4 separate regions of the Homo sapiens genome follow, and regions 1, 2 and 3 are each linked to region 4. Evidence: promoter capture Hi-C in 16 types of primary human blood cells and fetal thymus (Javierre and others, 2016). All regions are on one chromosome and are shown on one strand. Each heading gives the region's core, a stretch centred on a gene start or on the middle of the fragment in contact. The rest is flanking DNA. Distances are from core to core; before and after follow the strand shown. Region 1 overlaps TAF4 (TATA-box binding protein associated factor 4). Region 2 holds the start of LSM14B (LSM family member 14B). Region 3 overlaps NTSR1 (neurotensin receptor 1). Region 4 holds the start of RPS21 (ribosomal protein S21).

What was found. The method cuts DNA at HindIII sites, captures the fragments that hold promoters and counts their contacts. A CHiCAGO score of 5 or more calls a contact.
Region 1: a fragment that was not itself captured here is called in contact with the fragment with the promoter of RPS21 in region 4 in 1 of 17 cell types (neutrophils); the score reaches 5.1 in neutrophils.
Region 2: the fragment with the promoter of LSM14B here is called in contact with the fragment with the promoter of RPS21 in region 4 in 1 of 17 cell types (naive CD4 T cells); the score reaches 5.9 in naive CD4 T cells.
Region 3: a fragment that was not itself captured here is called in contact with the fragment with the promoter of RPS21 in region 4 in 1 of 17 cell types (M2 macrophages); the score reaches 5.1 in M2 macrophages.

What each region holds. Positions count from the first base shown.
Region 1 is chr20:62,058,465-62,061,672 of GRCh38, forward strand. The region is part of intron 1 of TAF4 (TATA-box binding protein associated factor 4); the gene reads right to left. Among named protein-coding and RNA genes, the nearest start is that of MIR3195, 4.7 kb to the right of the region's middle. The HindIII fragment of the contact is 354 bases long and covers 1,448-1,801 here.
Region 2 is chr20:62,121,161-62,124,166 of GRCh38, forward strand. It overlaps LSM14B (LSM family member 14B), which reads left to right and starts at 1,315. Exons shown (of 9, transcript NM_144703.3): 1 at 1,315-1,633. The coding sequence starts at 1,507. It overlaps LOC105372706 (a long non-coding RNA gene), which reads right to left and starts at 2,524. Exons shown (of 3, transcript XR_936963.2): 1 at 2,296-2,524. RefSeq lists silencers at 374-1,463, 1,624-2,163 and enhancers at 827-1,514, 1,515-2,203, 2,204-2,891. The HindIII fragment of the contact is 16,298 bases long and covers 1-3,006 here.
Region 3 is chr20:62,719,754-62,723,095 of GRCh38, forward strand. All of the region lies in intron 1 of NTSR1 (neurotensin receptor 1), which reads left to right. Among named protein-coding and RNA genes, the nearest start is that of NTSR1, 13 kb to the left of the region's middle. RefSeq lists a silencer at 1,621-1,813. The HindIII fragment of the contact is 3,085 bases long and covers 183-3,267 here.
Region 4 is chr20:62,385,098-62,388,352 of GRCh38, forward strand. It overlaps RPS21 (ribosomal protein S21), which reads left to right and starts at 2,006. Exons shown (of 6, transcript NM_001024.4): 1 at 2,006-2,039; 2 at 2,224-2,291; 3 at 2,514-2,577; 4 at 2,746-2,817; 5 at 3,212-3,255. The coding sequence starts at 2,242. It overlaps RPS21-DT (RPS21 divergent transcript), which reads right to left and starts at 1,892. Exons shown (of 1, transcript NR_186459.1): 1 at 1,206-1,892. RefSeq lists enhancers at 1,144-1,193, 1,472-2,163, 2,164-2,855 and silencers at 1,544-1,663, 2,094-2,283. The HindIII fragment of the contact is 6,470 bases long and covers 1-3,255 here.

The DNA of each region.
Region 1 (3,208 bases), core at 375-2,874, 330 kb before region 4:
AATGGGGCTCGGGGGCCAACCTCAGCAAGACCTCAGGAAGGACGGACACAGGTCTACACACCAGGCCACAGACAATGGGGCTCGGGGGCCAACCTCAGCAAGACCTCAGGAAGGACGGACACAGGTCTACACACCAGGCCACAGACAATGGGGCTCGGGGGGCCAACCTCAGCAAGACCTCAGGAAGGACGGACACAGGCCTACACACCAGGCCACAGACAATGGGGCTCGGGGGGCCAACCTCAGCAAGACCTCAGGAAGGACGGACACAGGCCTACACACCAGGCCACAGACAATGGGGCTCGGGGGCCAACCTCAGCAAGACCTCAGGAAGGACGGACACAGGTCTACACACCAGGCCACAGACAATGGGGCTCGGGGGCCAACCTCAGCAAGACCTCAGGAAGGACGGACACAGGTCTACACACCAGGCCACAGACAATGGGGCTCGGGGGCCAACCTCAGCAAGACCTCAGGAAGGACGGACACAGGTCTACACACCAGGCCACAGACAATGGGGCTCGGGGGGCCAACCTCTCCAGTCCCCAAACACAGTCCCCAACAGACAACTTCTCCTGTCCCCACATGCGGCTCCCAACAAACAATTTCTCCTGCCCTCACACGCGGTTCCCAACGACAACTTCTGCTCCACAACATGACACCCACGGTGGGAGAAGCTGGGGGCACTTCACTACATCATCCTGCACACTGCAGCATGGCCTGCTCCAGGCAGAAGGCAGGCCTGGAGAAGAGCCTGGGACCACCGCGGACTGACCAACAGCGGACACCAGGTACTTTCTCAAATGGGAGAGGGGCCTCATGGTGGACAACATGTATCTCTTTGTTTTTCGAAAGCTGTACATCTTTGGTGCAAATGTTCATTTGAGATATGTAAAAATCAAAAGTTTTCACTCAAAACTTTCATGGTCCAACCATGGAAATATTAAGCACCCCATTTTCGAACATAACTTGACAGCACTTATTCTACTTCATTATTCCACGCAAGAATTGGAAAGAACAGCTGTGTACGTGTTTGCAGCTGACACCACAATGCCATAGCAACCGCAGGCCCACCTGGAAGCAGAAGCGTCCAGGAAGCCCAGGTGCACAGCACTCGGCACAGAAGGGCCTGCAGCCAAAAGCCCCCTTTATTTAACTGCTTTATTGCTATCAAAGGCCTGATTAAGTAAACGCCCCCATCACGCTGCCTGAGCCGGGCACCACAGGTGAACACCCTAAACAGCAACTGTTTCCTGGATGATCGAGGGCTTGGAGGTTCCTACTGAGCACCATGAAGAAGAAAAGCAAAGCACTTCGGGAACCCTGCAAATTACCCCAAATCTCAGGCAAGCTTCTCCAGAGCCCTGTTACACCTCTGCTTCAAGATCCTCAAACACAGCTGCTAATTATGCTTTGATCAACTCACTTACAACCAACAATTTATAAAAGCTTTCTTCAAATTTATCCCTTAAGTGGAAGAAAACTCACATTATACAGTAGAAAAGGCTTTGGAGGTAGAACAGGAACTGTCTCCATTCCACTCTGATTTCGGGATGCGGACACGCCCACCAGTCTGTTCTGCTGAGCCCGGTCTGTGCTGCTCTGACCAGACGCCGCCTCCCGGCCTCCCTGTGCTGATGTCTAAGGGGCAACTTCCACAGCACACCGGGGAGCCCGGGGGCAGTCCTGGAAGCCAGGGTGGCTCTGCTCTCTGCCCTGGGAGAAGGCCAACTTCCCAGGCGCCCGGGGCCTGCCTCAGGTCCATTTGCCACAGAAGCAAGCGGGACACCCTCTCCTACAAAGCTTCTCACAGGCCCTAAGAACCAGGGCAACCGTAACGAACTTCAAACGTCATCCTCTGTTCAAACTCATAGACCTCTGCTGTGAATGCAGTGCTCGGGCACAGTAAGCAGTGAGGAGAGAGGCTCCTAAGAGCGTCACAGGACCCCGACTCCTGGCTGCCACTAAGCCATGAGGGTCACCAGCTCTGAGACACCAAAGGCAGGTGAGGTCCATCCCAACCTGTCACCAAGATGACTCTGTTCATCCCGAAGGCGATGGTGACGACCCCAGCCGCGGGGCAGGGGGCAGGGAGGAAGGGAAGACCCAGAGCGGCGCCCTTGCCCTATGCTAGGCAGAGCTGTCCAGGGCTGTCTTTACACAGCTCCCCAAAAGTTCTTTTTCTTTGTTCTTTTCAAATGTCACTCCTACCTGAGTATGTCAAAAGAAACACCAGATTAAGGCCTCTAGCCTAAAGTGAGCCCTCCACCCAGGTCCAGGCCTCCAAAGGCCACTGCAACCCTCCCCTATGTTGGCAACCACCGCCCCAGGGTGACCCACCTCAGACCTCGGTAACTTCCCCATTGACAGAACCAGTCAGCTGCCACACCAAACACCTCAGTCACTGAGAAAACATCCAGTCTGGATTAATGTGTGAAAATCAGTGAAAAATGAGGGGAACTGGGAGAGTTTGGAATAGTGAGCGCCACCTGACAGCTATGTTATCTGGCCCAACCTGACAGAATTCACATTCTTCACCAAAAGGGCAACCCCACTTTACAGCTGGGTAAGCCAAGGCTCCGAGGAACAACATATTCCTCCCAGGTCAAACGGCAACAGGGCCCTCAAGTCACAAAATCTAAACTTTTAGGAATGTCCCTTGTGCCAGAGCACTGGCTGCCACCACTGGCCACCAGAACTCACAGCTCCTGCAACCTCAGGGGTGGCCGTCTGCATGCCGCCACCCAGCATGGGCCTGGACTCGCCAAATCCAACCCGTCCCAACAGCGCGATTAAGGGCTAGTGGACATTTTCCCCCTTTCCCCACAGATGGGAACCAATGCTCCAGACAGCACCCACAGACACACATTCACCTGGGAGTACTCATCCTAAAACATGCAGCAAGCACACGCCCCCTAGGCCAAGGGATCAAGGCCCATGGTGAGAAAGTGCTTTTCTGTCCTGGAATGGGAATCTACACTTGGGCCAAATCTTAGAGCAAAAGGAGAGTAAATTCTGCATGAAAGCACAATAGACCAAGATACACTGAAGAAAATGTGAATTTGCCAGGCCAAAAGATAACCTTTAGAAATGAGCTTCTTTACCTTACACCGATCTGAAAAGATCTCTCAACAATTTACCAACATGCTAATGTGGGTGTCAAATCACCTTTTTCTTCTTTCAGCTGTAATCACAACCTGACTATGAC
Region 2 (3,006 bases), core at 65-2,564, 260 kb before region 4:
TCGCCCAGGCTGGAATGCAGTGGTGAGATCTCTGCTGACTGCAATCTTCACGTCTCAGGCTCAAGCGATTCTCCTGCCTCAGACTCCCGAGTAGCTGGGGATTACACGTGTCTGTCACCACGCCCGGCTAGTTTTTTTGTATTTTTAGAGTAGAGACAGGGTTTCACCATTTTGCCCAGGCTGGTCTTGAACTCCTCACCTCAAGTGATCCGCCCGCCTCCGCCTCCCAAAGTGTTGGGATTACAGGCGTGAGCCACCGCGCCCAGCCTATTGCATTTTTATAGTCACCACCCACTACTTTTTTTTTCCAGGACCCAATATTGGTCCGTGATCTGATGATGTTCACGGTCAAGACGGAAGCAAAAAAAGCACACACCGCGCGCCCTCGGTCACTAATCACGCGGAGTATACGCGAGGAGGGCCCGCAGCTAAGCGACGGCGGGCGGCCGAGCTTCCTCCACGGCCGGGGAGGTGGGCAAGGCCTCCGGGCCGCAGCCCCGGGTACGAGCGGAGGCTCCGAGGCCCCCGGTAGCCAGTCAGAATTTATTTTAAGGGAAATGGAAAGCTGCGGCAGGCTTTGGGAGGAGGGGCAGGATTAAAAGAGAAAGTGTGCTCAGCATGTTATATTTAGAGGCTGCCACGCCGGAAGCGCCGCCTTCCCGGGAGCTGCCGCCGCGCCCGCCCCCCGCCGGCACCTGGGCACTGGGGCGGGAGTCCCGGGGCTGCCCGGGAACACCCGGCGCCCAGGGCCTCCGCCACTCCCCGGTCCCCCATGAGGGTGAGGGCTATAGGCGCATCTGGCCCAAGATAGGGGAGTCGTCCGGACCCCACTTCTGTAGGAGGGGAAACTGAGGCCAAGGGGGCAAAGCCCCCGTGTTCGCGGCGCCCAGGGTCCGGGGCGGCGCCGGCACGCGCGCGGGCGGGGCCTGGCGCTCCTCCCCGGTCCCGCCCACTGAGCGTGCAAACCGCAGCCGCCCGCCCACGCGCACGCGCGCTCCTCCCGGGCCGCTTCCCACCCCTCCCCCCGCCCGCTCAGTCTCGTGCTCCCAGCTCCGCGAGGGGCCCGCCGGGAGCCGGCCGAGGGTGGGGCGGATCGCCGGGGAGACCCGCCCCCGGCCAGCGGCGCCTTGCTGCGCAGGAACGACGCGAGGGCCCGCCCCCCAGCTGGCGGCCCGGCCATATTTAAAGGACGGCGGGCGCGGCGAGCCAATGGGCGGCGAGCGTGAAGGGGCGGTGCGTGGCGGTGCGTGGCGGCGCGAGGCCCCGGATGTGGCTGCGGCGGCCCCTCCTCCCCCGCGCTCCTCTCAGAGCCCCAGTCGCGCGCCCCTTCTTGGTTCGCTCGGTGCCCGCGCAGGCCCCTCGGGCGGTGGCGAGGAGGCGCCCAGGCGGAGGCGGCGGCGGGCGGAGGAGCGCAGGAGCGGGCGGCCAGGCCACCGCGCGGCGGCGGAGCGGGCCGCGGCCCGGCGCTCCTTCCCCACCGCGGCCCGACGCACCCCGGCCGCCGCCATGAGCGGCTCCTCAGGCACCCCGTATCTGGGCAGCAAGATCAGCCTCATCTCCAAGGCGCAGATCCGCTACGAGGGCATTCTCTACACCATCGACACCGACAACTCCACCGTGGCGCTCGCCAAAGGTAGCGGCCGCCGCCCGCCCGAGCCCGCTGACCCCCGTCCGCCAACAGCCCCGGCCTGCGGTGCCCTCCCCGCCCCGGGGCGCCCCGGAGCCTGGCGCCCAGACCCCGCCCAGAACCCACCCAGGGCACACCCGGCCCGAGATCCCCTGCCCGCGCCTTCACCCCGGACGCCCCCGAGGCGCCCCCTTCCCGCGCGCCACCCTCCCCCAGCGTAGCCGGCCGCACAATGGTCTCCCTGGGCTCCCAGGGCGGCGGGATTGTGCGCGGGCGCCCGGCGGTGTTTGGTGAGGGGCGGGCCCGGCCCCCGCGGTGCCGCCCCCTCGGCCGCCCAGCCCACCTCTGCAGGTGCCAGCTCCGAGGAGCAGGGCGGCTCCCGTCAGCGGGCCTCCTCCCCGCCAGCCTGGGGGGATCCCTGCGGGGGAGCCTCGAGGTCGGGTGGCGGGGCCAGTGTCCCGGCGTCTCCCGAAGGCTGGGGGTGGGGTCACAACACGCGAATCCTGCAAGCCTTTCTGGAACTTATTAGACAGCTGGGGCCTTGATCCTGAACAAATACCGCGTCCTAATGCGGCCTCCTGCCAAGGCAGAAGCATCCGTTGGCAGCCAGATGCCCCGGTTTAAACGGTTCTCCTGCTCTATCCTGACCTTCCCACTGTGGGGCTTACCTTTTGGTGACAGCCGCCTGTGGGTGCTCGTAACCGGCTGTGGCCGCTGGAGGACTTACAGGAGGGGGGCTCTTTAGAGTCAGAATCTCTGAGGTTGTTGAGGCAGCGGGTGGTCCAGAGTTTCTTTGTCTTCATCACCCAGAGAAGACGGGGAGTGCACTTCCCCTGCCTCTCAGAGAAAAGTGCCCGTGGAGCCACGTCTGCCTAAGCCCGTGTGTGTGCTGGATCTGGCGCTAGGCTCCCAGGGGTTCTTGAAGTGTCTAGACGCGTCTGAAACGCTGCTTAGGTCACAGGGAACTTCATGTGTAGAAGAACGCACTCATTCCAAACAGGGAGTGTCTCCTTTTGAAGCCCGTCTCCTGCGTGGCTTCAGGAGCTTGTTGAGTATGCCAGGGCTATGCACTCACTTGCAGCCATGGAACCTCACTACACTTATTACAGGAGAGCCCAGTTAGAGAAGCTGAGGCCCAGAGTAGGCCCAGGAGTTAGCAGGAGTTGTGTCTTACCAGTTAGAGGCTGCTGTCCCACCCACCTCTGCCCCTAGAGGCTTGCTAGAAAGAGACTTGGGCGCTCCTGGAAGCCTGCTGGTTAGGGGTTAGTAGACTCAATTCCTTATAGATGCGGAAGCCGGGGTCAGAGGTCCATAATCCTGGGACCCTGTCTCCCTTTGTTTTCTGTTACAGCTGTTCCAAGGTTTGTTATGGATAGAAG
Region 3 (3,342 bases), core at 475-2,974, 330 kb after region 4:
ACTTGCTAGTGTTTTGCTGAGAATTTTTGTGTCTATGCTCATGAGAAATATTGGTCTGTAAGTTTATTTTCCTGGGTTATCTTCATCTGGTTTTCTGGCCTCATAACATGAGCTGGGAGGTTCTTGTTCCTTTTGTGTTTTCTGTCAGAGGTTGTGTAGAATTGGCATGATTTCCTCTTTAAAGCTTTGGTAGATTGTCCAGCAAAACCATCCGGGCCTGGAGTTTTGTAGGAAGGTTTTTATAAATTCAATTCTTTTCAAAGAAACCAGGTGTAGTGGTTCAGGCCTGTAATCCCAGCACCGTGGGAGGCCAAGGAGGGTGGATCACCTGAGGTCAGGAGTTTGAGACCAGCCTGGCCAACAGGATGAAACCCTGTCTCTACTAAAAATACAAAACTTAGCCAGGTGTGGTGGTGGGCACCTGTAGTCCTGGCAACTCGGGAGGCTAAGGCAGGAGAATCGCTTTAACTCGGGAGGTGGAGGTTGCAATGAACCGAGATCACGCCACTGCACACCAGCCTAGGTGACAGAGCGAGACTCCATCTCACAAGACAAATTATTTTAAAAGATAAAGGAATATTCAGGTTATATATTTCTCCTTGAGTAAGTGTTAGTAATTTGTATCTTTTGAGGAATTGGTCCATATAATCTATTTTGTCAAATTTTAGAGCATAGATTTATTTGTGGTATTCTGTCATCATCCTTTTAATGTCTGTGGGGTCAGTAATAGTGTCTCCTTGTTCATTTCTAATATTGGTAATCTGTGACTTCTCTCTTTTCTCCTTGGGCAATATGGCTAGGATTTTATTAACATTATTGTTCTTTTTCAAGAATGAGCTTTTGATTTCATTGATTTTTTTTCTATTGTCTTTTAGCTTTCAATTTTATTTATTTATATTTCTTTCTTCATTTCCTTTTTCTGCTTGCTTTGGGTTTAATTTGCTCTTCTTTTCCTAGATTTCCTAAGGTGGGAGCTTGGATTATTGATTTAAGATCTTTATTCTTTTCTAACATAAACATGAAATGCTATAAACATCCTCCTAATTAATGCTTTAGTGGCATCTCAAAATTTTTGAACATTGTATTCTAATTTAGATCAAAATTTTTTTATATCTTGAGATTCCCTCTTTAACCTTTGTGTTATTTACAAATGTGTTGTTTAGTTTCCAAATGTTTGGGATTTTCCAGATATTACTTTTTTATCCATTTCTAATTTAACCCTATTATGTTTAGAGAACAAATGTGCATGATTTAAATTCCTAATTTTGTGAATGCTTGTTTCATGGTTTAGGATAATGGTCTATTCTGGTGAATGTCACATGCACACTTGAGCAGAATGTGCTGTGCTATCATTGCTGGGTATATTATTCTATGAAGGTCAATTTGTTGGATAGTGTTATAGTATTTAATTCTAGAATTTTTATTGGTTCTTTTAATATAGTTTCTTTTTGTCTTTTAAGAACTTTCATTTTTCCATTTATTTCAAGAGAGTTACCTTTACCTCAAGGAGCATGGTTGTAATGCCTGCTTTAAAGTCTTTGTCTGGTAAATCCATCCTCTGGGTCATCTTGAGGGTGGCATATATTGATTCTCTTTTCCTTGAGAGTTAGTCCCATTTCCATGGTTCTTTTTCTGTTAAGTAATTTTGAATTAATTCCTGAACATTTTGAATTTTGTTGTGGTTCTTTGGGTTATGTTAGAATCCTCTGGAGAGGCAGCCCGCTTGGTCAGAGCTGCCGCTTTTGTCTCACTGTCTGTCCGTGGTGGTTCCAATGCAGGCCTGTTTTTGGGTCTTTTGCTGTTCAGCCATTCCACATGAAAGTGCCATTCAGGGGCAGGCTTAGATCTTGGAGATCGTTTATATCACAGCGGTTTTCAAGCCCTTAACTATAATTGTTTAGGTGTGTTCCTCATATGTGGTAACTCCAGGACTTGTGTTGACTCATACACAGAACTGGGGGATCCCCTTGTTCAGCTCTCACCTCTCTGAGATTTCCTGTCACACTCTCTAGTTTCCAGGGATCCTTTCCTTAGGCCTCCAGCCAGGAAGCCCGAGTATTCCATGTTATGTCCTCTGCTGACTTCTTTAGATCCACTTCTCTGTATTTGCTCTTGGAATGGTTGCCCTGGAATATCAGTATGCCTCTGAGTGGACTCTGAGTGCTCAGAGTCTGATCAGATTCATATCATGCTGATTTACACCTGACACCTCCTGCTTCTCACTTCCACCTTGATGTCTGTTTCAATGGACTCATTTTTTTCTTGTCAATGGGTCACATTTTACTTTCTTTGCATATCTAGTAATTTTTAACCTATACTAGACCTTGTAGATGACACATTAAAGAGACTGGATTGTGTTGTGTTCCTTTGGAGAGGGTTGATTCTTATTTTAGCAGGCAGTTCAGTGGCAGACTCGTCATCTTGAACTTGGGTCGGCTTGGTTTCATGCTTAGTTGAGTAAACAACTACGGAAAGCCCAAGGCATTTTCCAATATCCCTTCTCACTTGGAAGAACTCAGTGGGCACCTTCAGCCTCCTCTGTGGATTCTGTCTTAGCTGGGGTGGGTTTGGAGGCCTTGCTCTAGGGCTTCTCCATCCTCCTGTGTCATGGGCTTCCTGGCATCTCTGTTGGCTGCTTCATGTGTTAATGAGACTTCTTCCCCCTAGCTCTGCCAGGATGCCAGCCACCCTCTGATAAGCCTTTCGTGGCCTTGTTCTGTACACGCTGGGCCAGCACAGATCCCACAGGAAAGCCGGTGTAGGCTTCTGAGGACCGTCACCATGCAGTCCCCCTCTCTAGCACCTGGCTCTGCAGATGTAGCCACAGCCACAGCCCGCATCTCTGATCTCTGCCTCCTTGGCTCAGATAGTAACGTTCTGCCCGGACCTCAGCTCTTACGTCTCCATCAGGAAACTGTCCCCAAACAGAGGCATGGTGATGATGGGCTCACCTTGTGAGTATCCATGCCCTTAGGGACCACAGTCCTGAGGTTTGTCCAGGGTCTGAAAACAACTGCCTGATACATCGTGTACAATTTTATAGTTGTTTATGGCAGGAGAGCTAGTCCAGTACCCCTGGCGAAAGTCATCCGTAGATTTTAAACACTGCCTACTTTCAAAAAGATCTGAGGCAGCTTATGATAAAAGGCTTGGGCTCAAAGGAATTATTAAAACAATGTTACAAAAGAACACAGAACAAAGAAATAGAGTTATCCAAGAAACATGAGTCTGAGGACAGCCACTGTGTTTGAGTAAATCTTACACTGAAGCTTATGAAAAAGAGCAACATTATTTGGACTTAAACATTTTTAGCCTGTTGTCTGTGAAAAGGTGAACTTACTG
Region 4 (3,255 bases), core at 756-3,255:
CGTCTCAAACAAACAAACAAACAAACAAACAAACAAACAAAAACTAAGAATAGAGCTGCCATAAATAAAGCAATCCCACTGCTGGGCATATACCCAAAAGAAAGGAAATCAGTATATGAAAGAGATACCTGGCCGGGTGTGGTGGCTCATGCCTGTAGTCCCAGCTACTGAGGAGGCTGAGGCAGGAGAATCACTTGAACTCTGGGGGCAGAAGTTGCAGTGAGCCGAGATCGCACCACTGCACTCCAGCCTGGGTGACAGAGCGAGACTTTGTCTCAAAAAAAAAAGAAAGAAAGGAAGAGATACATGTGCTACGATGTTTATCACAGCACTATTATTTGTGGGAGCTAAAAATTAAAACAATTGAATTTGTGGAGACAGACAGTAGAAAGATGGTTACCAGAGGCTGGGAAGGGTAGAACAGTGGGAGGAGGGGGGCAAATGGGGATGGTTAATGGGTATAAAAAGACAGAAAGAATAAGACCTAGTGTTTGATAGCACAACAGGGTGTCTACAGTCAATAATGATTTAATTGCACATTTTAAAATGACTAAAAGAGTATAGTATTGGATTATTTGTAACGCAAAGGATAAATGCTTGAGGTGATGGATGCTCCATATACCCCATGTGATTACTACGCACTGCATGCCGGTATGAAAATATCTCATGTGCCCCATAAATGTACACACCCACTATGTACCCAAAAAATTAAACATAAAAAAACTTTTTTTTTTTGAGACGCAGTCTTGCTCTGTCGCCCAGGCTGGAGTGCAGTGGCGGGATCTCAGCTCACTACAAGCTCCGCCTCCCGGGTTCACGCCATTCTCCTGCCTCAGCCTTCCGAGTAGCTGGGACTACAGGCGCCTGCCACCACGCCCAGCTAATTTTTTGTATTTTTAGTAGAGATGGGGTTTCACCATGTTGGCCAGACGGGTCTCGAACTCCTGACCTCAGGTGATCCACCCACCTCCGCCCAAAGCGCTGGGATTACAGGCCTGAGCCACCGCACCTGGCCACTGAGTCTTAAGTTTTCTGAGGCTAGTTCTACATCCTAGGATCATGTCCCCCGCCCAGAGAAGACCCCAACATAGGCCGCGCTGCTCCCTCCGTCTACCGGTTTGGAGCTTCTCCTGGCAACAGGGTTCAGGCTACTAACAAGGCCTTCCTCAAGACCCCACCCATAACCAACGACCATACTTCGTGGGTCCATCTTTGTAACATCTTTACTTCCTTGGAGCAAATTCCCAGGAATGGGTTTTCGGGGTCCAAGGGTATGCACCTCTAGCACTACGACAAACGCGGCCAACACGCTTCAGGGAAACGGTGCCCCAGTTTGCATTCTGCTTCCCCTGCCCTGCCCTGGGGGTCTGACTGGTGAAACATGGGATGGCAGAGTGGTCGGGTGTTTCAGATTCCACGGTGGGCCGGGGTCTTTTCCTACCCTCGGGAGCCGTCTGAATTTCTCCTCTGCCGAGTTCCTGCGGGTGTCCTTCGCCCACCGGCCCGGGGGAGTGAGTAGCAGGCACCAGGTGAGCAGGCCTCCGCTCGCAGCGGCTACGTGCACGGGCAGGAGCACCGCCCCACGCCCCAGGTGGCCGCAGGGTGAGGGGACCGGAGGGCGGGAGGCGCACAATGGGGGGCACGCCCGTATCTCTAGCCCGGCCGGCAGCGGGCAGCGAGGCTCAGTCCTCGCCCCTTCTCCCAGCTGCTATTCGGGGCTCCCGAGGCGCTCAGAGGGGTCGACTGCGTCCGTGGGGCACAACCCAGGGGCCAGGCTAAGACGCCACACACGGCAACGACCCTCAACGACAACGACCCCCACGACGCCCCGCGCCCCAGGGCCAGCAGGCTGGGGTCCGAGAACCTCCTTGCCGGAAGCGGAAGTGCGTCACGGCGACGGCCGGCAAGCACGCACCGCGCAGACTCGCTGTGGTGGCGTGACCCGGAAGCGCTCGCCGAGGCCCCTCCTTGCCCGCCGATATCTCTGCCGGGTGACTAGCTGCTTCCTTTCTCTCTCGCGCGCGGTGTGGTGGCAGCAGGTGTGGCGCGCGGCGCGGGCTTCGGGCTCAGGGCTGGGGCTGGGGCGGGAGTGGGGGCTTGGACGCGGGGGACGGGGTGCGGGGTGCTGGGTGCGGCTGGGGCCGTGACCCTAGGGGCCGGTTTGCGCCGGGAGCCGGGGCACGGTTCCGGCCGTACTCACGGCGCCGCGCGGTGACTCCCCAGGCGCAGCCCAGCCTCGAAATGCAGAACGACGCCGGCGAGTTCGTGGACCTGTACGTGCCGCGGAAATGGTAAGCGCCCCCCACATGCCTCTCTTCCGTCCTTACCTAACCACCACGTCCCCTCGCCTGCCCTTGTTCCCCCACACCCCTCCCGTCCTTACCTCGTCACGTCCCTAACTTGTCCTGCCCCCGACGTTACTCTTTTCCATTCATATACCCCCAACCTCCCTCGTCCCCTCTTTCATTCTTACCGCCCAAGTCCCCTCTGCTCACTGCGCCCTTTCTCCACAGCTCCGCTAGCAATCGCATCATCGGTGCCAAGGACCACGCATCCATCCAGATGAACGTGGCCGAGGTGAGCTGGGAGCCCGGGAGGCGGGAAGGTTGTGATATATGTGCGGGAAAGGCAGGCTGTCCCATTGTGGAGGAGCCCCTGGGGTGAAGGTACAGGCAGAGGCTGGCTTTGAGGATTGGTGTTTCCCAAACCTGGGGGAGTGGTTTGTGACCCTTCTTCTCTTTCTAGGTTGACAAGGTCACAGGCAGGTTTAATGGCCAGTTTAAAACTTATGCTATCTGCGGGGCCATTCGTAGGATGGTGAGTGTTTCCCTGGGCTTTGCTCATCACTTCGGGACATCGTGGACTTTACCGTGCGCATTGGAGTGTGTGATGGTGCCTGAGTAGATCTGCTGGCAGAGTAGTTTGAGCCAGCTGGACTGGGCTGGCCGCCTGCCGCTTCTTGAGGGTGGAAGAGGGGTGCTCTGAGAAGACACTCAGGCAGCAGACTCTGCCTCTCACTAGGAGGTGCCCCCCCGACCCCGCTCCACCATAGTCAGGCTGCAGGCTGCCCCGGGAGAGGTGGCTCCCCTTCTGCGCCTGTCTCCATTCGCTCAGCGGGGGAGAGACGTGGGCTGGTGGCACAGCTGACCTTCTGCCATCTCAGGCAGCCGGAGTGGAAATATTCTTAGTGTGCTTTTTTTTTTTTCTTAAGGGTGAGTCAGATGATTCCATTCTCCGATTGGCCAAGGCCGATGG